Regions from separate parts of the Homo sapiens genome. Here region 1 is linked to region 2. Evidence: promoter capture Hi-C in 16 types of primary human blood cells and fetal thymus (Javierre and others, 2016). All regions are on one chromosome and are shown on one strand. The core of a region is centred on a gene start or on the middle of the fragment in contact, and the rest is flanking DNA. Distances in the headings are between cores, read along the strand shown. Region 1 has its middle 7.9 kb from the start of PCDHB1-AS1. Region 2 holds the start of SLC25A2 (solute carrier family 25 member 2).

Region 1 (3,518 bases), core at 747-3,246, 220 kb before region 2:
ACTTCTGTTCTTAAATATCCCTTTTTAGTACCTGATAGTGCCTATGCAAATCACCGAGTCACCTTTTTAATATTCTAACCTCCTGCGGTGTAGGCACCAGACTTTACTCAACTTTATATCCCCAATGTCTTTTACAGTGCTTGAATATAATCTGTGTGTAAAAAATACCTGCGAAGAATTAATCAGTTCAATGAATTTATGGCCAAATGACTGGCTTGATTGAAATGAAAGAAATCCAATTCGGTTCCTCTCAAAGGAAATCTCACAGCTGATATTATGATAATAAACAACCATTGTTTTTGTTCACATTAAGTAAACTAAATATTGGAGAAGTAATTAAAACTCAAGAGGTGAGAATTCCGCCCCTAGATGTGAATATGAACAGATTTTGACAGTTTCCGCAGGAAAGCGCTGTACAGCCCAGGTTTTCAGTTCGGACGCCTGGTGGCACTACAGGCTAAAAAGTAGGAGGAGGAGGAGCCCTGCATTTGCCTGCAGACTCCATCTTAGAAAAGACAAAATCTGAAAGGTGCTGGGAACAGATACGAGTTGGAAAACGTCCGCAGCGAGCTCAGATTTTAGAGCTTTCTTCAAACGAATGGGGACTACACAAATGTTTGGAAGTCTTACAGGATTTCCGAAGACTTCATTTACTAAAGGCAATGCACTCAGAGGATATACAGGAAATTGTGCGAGAAAAAAATCTGGCAGAAAACGCAGGTGGTGGGTTTTCATTTTCTTCCCGGGTGTAGCGCAGGCGGCCCAGGAAAAGGAAAACTGCTTTTTTATGGTCAGGGTTTCTGGAGATTGGCGCTGGCGGCGGAAAGGGGAGCGGCGGGAGGACAGACTGGAGCAGGATAGTTTCCAAAGAGACCAAATAATATTTCAGATCGACCCACAGAAGAGTCCTTGCTCTCAAGTAGAAAATCGGACCTATAGGAGCCCTGCATTTCCAAGAATTACCTGTATTTAAAAAAAAAAAAAATTTGTCTTTTGAGAAAAATCTGTGTCTGAGGTGTAACCGTTTCCTCCTTTGAAAAATTCTTCTGAATGTTCCAGAATGTGCACCAGGAACATGTATGAGGTTTGGGTAAATTTTCCATCATTGGAAACTACACACTCATTTTCAATTTCCATGTTCACAATAATGTGCTGTGCAATATTGGGGTAAGTAATTTGTCCATACGCGTGAAAAAAATCGCTGGATGAACCACAGCCCAAGGTAAGTTTAACTCTCCCAGAGAAGAATGGTAGATATCTGAGACCTCCTAAGTCCAAGTCATGACAATCAATGACAATCTTTGAGATGCAGGTCTCACAGCAACCGGCTGAAGATTTAGTCTGAGTAAATAATTATGAATCGGCTCTCAGAATTCTCCAGGCTCACTGAATTCTGCAACCTCTGGAGAGCATTTTAAATGCTAGCAGAACATTTTAAATACCACTGATACCCCATGCATCATAAGCATCCACTGCAAGAGAATTACCAGGAAATTTCAGTGCCACGTGGCAAATACTCAGGCAATTACAAGCAGAAATAGTTTCAGAAATTGTTTCTTCATGTGAAGGACGGTGGAAGACCATGCCATTGGATGACAATCACATAGAATTGGTCATGTTGACACTTATCTGCCTCATCCTGGAGCACTTCTGGGAAGACTTCATCTGTTTAAGAACCATAATCTCAGCACCCTGAGATAAAACAACAACAACAACAAAAACAAAACAAAACAAGAAAAAGCTTTGATCCTTCCTACCAGAGTTTTCTTTTCATTGGATATTTAAAATATTCCATAATCTGACAACCTAATAATGCAAACCAGAAAAGAGAGCTACACGCAACATCACTGTATTTCCAATGAAATTAGGTTCCAGGAAGCTCAAAACAAGACAGTAGGTAGAGACAGCTATCATCCTTGGCGTTCTTCCTTTTGGATTCTGGATAAAAGGTAGAGGAATAACAGCACCGTTCTGAATGTTTTGGTTATTTTATGGCTCTAATTTCCATCGTGTTTTTTTTCTGAAGCATAGCTAATTGTTCATTAACAGTTAACAGATATTGATGGCTTAGCTATTTTTATCTTTTTATCTATTTCACAAAGGTCTATTTAGAATCTAGTAGTGTATTTCCTCTTTATTGTTAAGCACAGAAAAGGAACGCATTTTTTTCTGCTCATGCCTAGTTTCCTTTGATCTTTCTCAAAGGTAAATTACCCCTAAAACTTTGAGTAGACTGTCCTAGCAGATATTCTGAAGCTTGACAAGGAAATTCATCCCACTTCAATCCATAAAATGATAGTCTTCGTAACTTCTCAAAGAAGGTCAAGCTATTTATTTTAAAGTCATCTTTTGCTTTTCTTGATATTTCGTAAATGATGGCTGACAAGTTGTGATAGTCTACTTTTCAGCAGGACTGGTCTCCATTTACTTAGTTTAAGTAACTATTTACTTGATTACTATTATTAATATATGGTTTTAACTTTTTATTTGAAATAGTCATTTGATGATTTTGGTGATATTGATGACCACGAAATCAAATGGAGATATACAACTACAAGAAAAAAAACTGTAGAAATAAATGTCTTTTTCGTTATTTAAGACGTAAATCAACTGAGTTGCTGTGTAGCTTATTTATGTCAATGTTAAATTTGTGTTTGTTAATTTTTACTGTTTCCTTATTAAACATCAAAAATGATTAATTCTTTGGCAATTAATATCATAGCATATCCAGTACATTAAATGTCATGTAAAACAGACCGACAAAACAATCTTATCTTTTTTTTCTTTATGTCAGTGTTTAATACTCTCCTGTATGGCTTAGGAAAATTAAAGAAGATACAACAGAATATGCCTCAAATAAGACCTATTTGTTGATATTTAATATATTTATGATAGTTGCTGATAAAATGAAAACAGACATTATTCAATACACTGGATAATAATTACATAAATACAAAGTGTTTGGTGTTTTCATTTGCCTTTCTCAAATACTTTTTTTCTTTCTAGAGAGTTTAATGCACTGACGGGGGGTGGGGGGCGGTCCTATAATGGCACTGCAGGCTCAAATGGTGGTTAAAGCAGATTGCAAATACAGTGCTGTATGTTTCATATTATATTACCCTGTCTGTGAAAGTTGTATTGGATGTCTAAGATTCTGGTGGCATAAGTAATAGAAACATTAGGGTGATCAGAGTTTGTGTAGGACCATATTTGCTGGAAGGTGTTAGAAGAAGGAATAATGTAATACTTAAAGCCCAGTCTAAAACAAAGTGTGATTCTGTTTTACTAAGCATGTACCATTCAGGATACTGAACTGCAGAATTCTGTTCCAGAGGTGCTGGAGAGTGGTTCCTTCATTGCTAATTTTGCAGAGATTTTGGGCCTTAGGATGGGGAACTTGAGAGGTATGGGGAGCGAGAGGGTAATTCATGTTTCTATAGATTTAAAAAACTGCATTTTCAAATCAAAAGACTCAGGAGTGGGTACTAAATAGAAATTGGATCCATCTGTGAGTCTCA
Region 2 (3,471 bases), core at 396-2,895:
AGGCAGGCAGAGGTTGCAGTGAGCCAAGATCATGCCACAGCACTCCAGCCTGGGCGACAGAGTGAGACTCTGTCTCCAAAAAAAAAGAAAAAAAGAGAGAGTGATCCTAAGTAATCATTCATACCTATCTTCACAAAATATGGTCAATTCTGGGTTTGGGGGGCTGATATTTGAGATTATATATAGAACTAAATTGTTTCACTCACGACATAGAATCATCCAAACTGCATGTACACACAAATGGCTTTATGCAAAGGCCCTGACAGAACGATATTTAGTTTTTCAGATTAGGTACATAGGGCCAACCAGCCCACCCTGTACATTCCAGCAAGTGCAAGAGCAGCAACTTTCCTATTTCAATACAATTATGGGCAGAAATTATATGATGTAAAATAGAGGCCCTTCCATAAAGTTAAGATTTAGGGTAGAAGAAGGGAAGATAAAACCAAAATTCCCATGAAGTCAAAATTAGACAGTGGTCTTGTACTCTGCTGAACCCTGTGATGAACTGTAGTCCTCAAACTCATGGACTCGGATCCAGGTTCACCAAGACACTTCAGTATGCTTCCAACTGTTTCATCATCATCTTCCTGCTGTATTCGTAGGCCACAAACAGTGCCCCATTGGCAGGGATTGCTCGAATCATAGTAGCTTTCAGTCCAGAATATAAGGCTACTATTCCTTCATTTCTCACAACACTTAAGAGGGTACCAATAAATCCTGCCTGTTTCCCATACATGGAAAGAACTTGAATTCTGGATTTAATACAATCCACTGGGAACACGACAAGCCACAGGCAAATTCCAGCAACTCCACCACTTAACATCAAATGGACAGGGCCTAGTTCATCTTTTGATCTCCCTGACGCAAAAAACGATCGGCTCAGTTCATAGCCACCAAAGAAAAAGAAATAACCCGGTACTTCTTGAAGTAGAGTACTCGAGAGTCCATGGTAGAAGCCCAAGGGGCCATCCTTTTTAAGGATACCCTTCACGACAGACCAAATTGTATTATGGCTTTTTGCTATCTTCCCTGACATCTCCATTTCATACATGGTCTGTAGCCGGCACTTCACAAGCTCAGTGGGGCAGAGAGCCAGTGCAGCAAATGCAGAGGCGAAGGACCCCGCGGCTGCAGTCTGGAGATCACTCAGCTTTGCCTGCTTGTCCATTCCAGCCACTTTCCTGACAAACTGCTGGCAGAACCCGTAGCACATGAAGAGGACCGAGTTTTCGGCGACGTAGGCCATAAGTGCCGGGCCGGTGCCCTTGTAGAAGCCCCGGAGACCCACTTGAGCGTATGTCTTCAGGAAGCAGTCGGTGAGGCCCTTGTACAGGTCAGGGAACGTCTGCATCTTCACTTTTATTGTGTCGAAGGGCTGCCCAGTCAGTACACACGCTGTCCCCCCTGCGGCCCCCGCTGTGAGGTCGATGGCGGCTTGGATGCCAGGACCGGACTTCATGTTCGCTCACTCGTCTGAGGGTCCCAGTGGAAGGCGACTAACTCCCCAGAGCGTGAGACCGGCTTTTCACGTCCAGCCGCAGCGAGCGCGGGGAATGGAGTTGGGGGTGGTGGGGTGGCTCTACCGCCTGTTCTGGGCTCTCACCCCAGTGCGGGGGAAGCCGCTCAACCCTACGCTCCGCCGCGGGCCGCCCCCTCCCCGCGCACTAAAATAACCCCCAGCTGCCGGCCCAGCGCGCGGCTCACTAGCGTTCCTGCGGCTCCTGGCGCACTGGCCGGGCCCCCAGCCGCCTCCAGCCTGGAGCCGCCATCCCTGCACCCGCAGGCGGGGGACGCGGACCGAATAAATACTTTTAGTGTACTGCGACTGGGCGCGGTGGCTCACTCCTGTATCCCAGCACTTTGGGAGGCCGAGGCGGGAGGATCGCTTGAGCCCAGGAGATCGAGACCAGCCTGGGCAATATGGCAAGACTCCATTTCTACAAAAACGAAAAAATACCCGGGCGCGATGGCGCGCGCCTGTGGTCCCAGCAATTCAGGAGAATGAAGCGAGGATCGCTTGAACCCGGGAGGTCGATGCTGCAGTGAGCTATGATCGCACACTGCACTCCAGGGTGGGCGAAAGGGTGAGGCTCTGTCTCAAAACAAAACCAAAACCAAGAAAACATGTAAAGCTTTTCGATAAATTCTTGCAATTATGGCCGGGAACTCTAGACGCCGCAGTTCAGCTGGCGGCAAAAGAAATGCTGTCCTAATCAGTCAGCCCTGCTTCTTTTCTTTTCTCTCTTTTTTTTTTTTTTGACTTAGGGTCTCACTCGGCCGCCTAAGCTGGAGTTCAGTGGCGCGATCCTGGCTCACTGCAGCCCCAATCTCCTGGCCTCAGGCGATCCTCTCACCTCAGCCTCCTGAGTAGCTGAGACTAGAGGGACTACAGGCGCAAGCCACCACATCTGGCTAAATTTTGTATTGTACAGACGGGGTTTCGCCATGTTGCCCAGGCTAGTCTCGAACTCCTGAACTCAAGCAATCCACCCACTGGCCTCCCAAAGTGTTGGGGCTTACAAGCATGAACCACCACACCCGGCCTATCCCACGCTTCTTACCATGCAAAAAACAAAAACAAACAACCCGAAAAGAAGATGCCCTCACTTGAATAGACCCTGAATTCAGAGGGTCAATCTACAAGAAAACTGCTTTAAAGTAGATAAGACAGGCCAGGTGTGGTGGCTCATGCCTGTAATCCCAACACTTGGAGAGGCTGCGGAGGGAGGCTCATTTGAGCCTAGGAGTTCAAGGCTAGCTTGGGCAGCAAAATGAGACACCCCTTACCCCCTACAAAAAATAAAGTAGAGAAGACAAACTGTCAGAGGCGCTGGAACCACAGCAACTCCATCTTGACTAGGGACTGAGTAAAATAAGGCCGAGACCTACTGGACTGCATTCCCAGGAAGACAGGCATTCTAAGTCACAGGATGAGATAGGAGGCCGGCACAAGATACGGGTCACAAAGACCTTGCTGATAAAACAGGTTTCAGTAAAGAAGCCAGCCAAATCCCACCAGAATCAAGATGGCATAATAAGTGACCTCTGGTCGTCCTTACTGCTCATTATACGCCAATTATAATGCATTAGCATGCTAAAAGACACGCCCACCAGCGCCGTGTCCACTTACAGATGCCATGGCAACAATAAGAAGTGACCCTATGTGGTCTAAAAAGGGGGAGGAATCCTCAGTTCCGGTAACTTTGGACCCCTTTCCCAGAAACCTCATGAATAATCCACCCCTTGTTTAGCTTACATTCAATAAAAAACTGTAAGTATCCTTAGTCAAGCCGCCCAGGCCACTGCTGTGCCTATGGAGTAGCCATTCTTTTGCTTCTTTACTTCTCTAATAAACTTGCTTTCACTTGACTCTATGAACTTGCCCCAAATTATTTCTTGCATGAGATCCAAGAACAATCTCTTGGGTCTGGATCGGGACCCCTGTCCGGTAACGAAACGATCTGAGGG

Evidence for each region. Contacts are between HindIII fragments. The CHiCAGO score rates a contact against its expected background, and 5 or more counts as called.
Region 1: a fragment that was not itself captured here is called in contact with the fragment with the promoter of SLC25A2 in region 2 in 1 of 17 cell types (M1 macrophages); the score reaches 5.5 in M1 macrophages.

What each region holds. Positions count from the first base shown.
Region 1 is chr5:141,084,147-141,087,664 of GRCh38, forward strand. It overlaps PCDHB@. Among named protein-coding and RNA genes, the nearest start is that of PCDHB1-AS1, 7.9 kb to the left of the region's middle. The HindIII fragment of the contact is 515 bases long and covers 1,740-2,254 here.
Region 2 is chr5:141,302,404-141,305,874 of GRCh38, forward strand. It overlaps SLC25A2 (solute carrier family 25 member 2), which reads right to left and starts at 1,646. Exons shown (of 1, transcript NM_031947.4): 1 at 232-1,646. The coding sequence starts at 1,462. The coding sequence ends at 557. The HindIII fragment of the contact is 3,271 bases long and covers 1-2,133 here.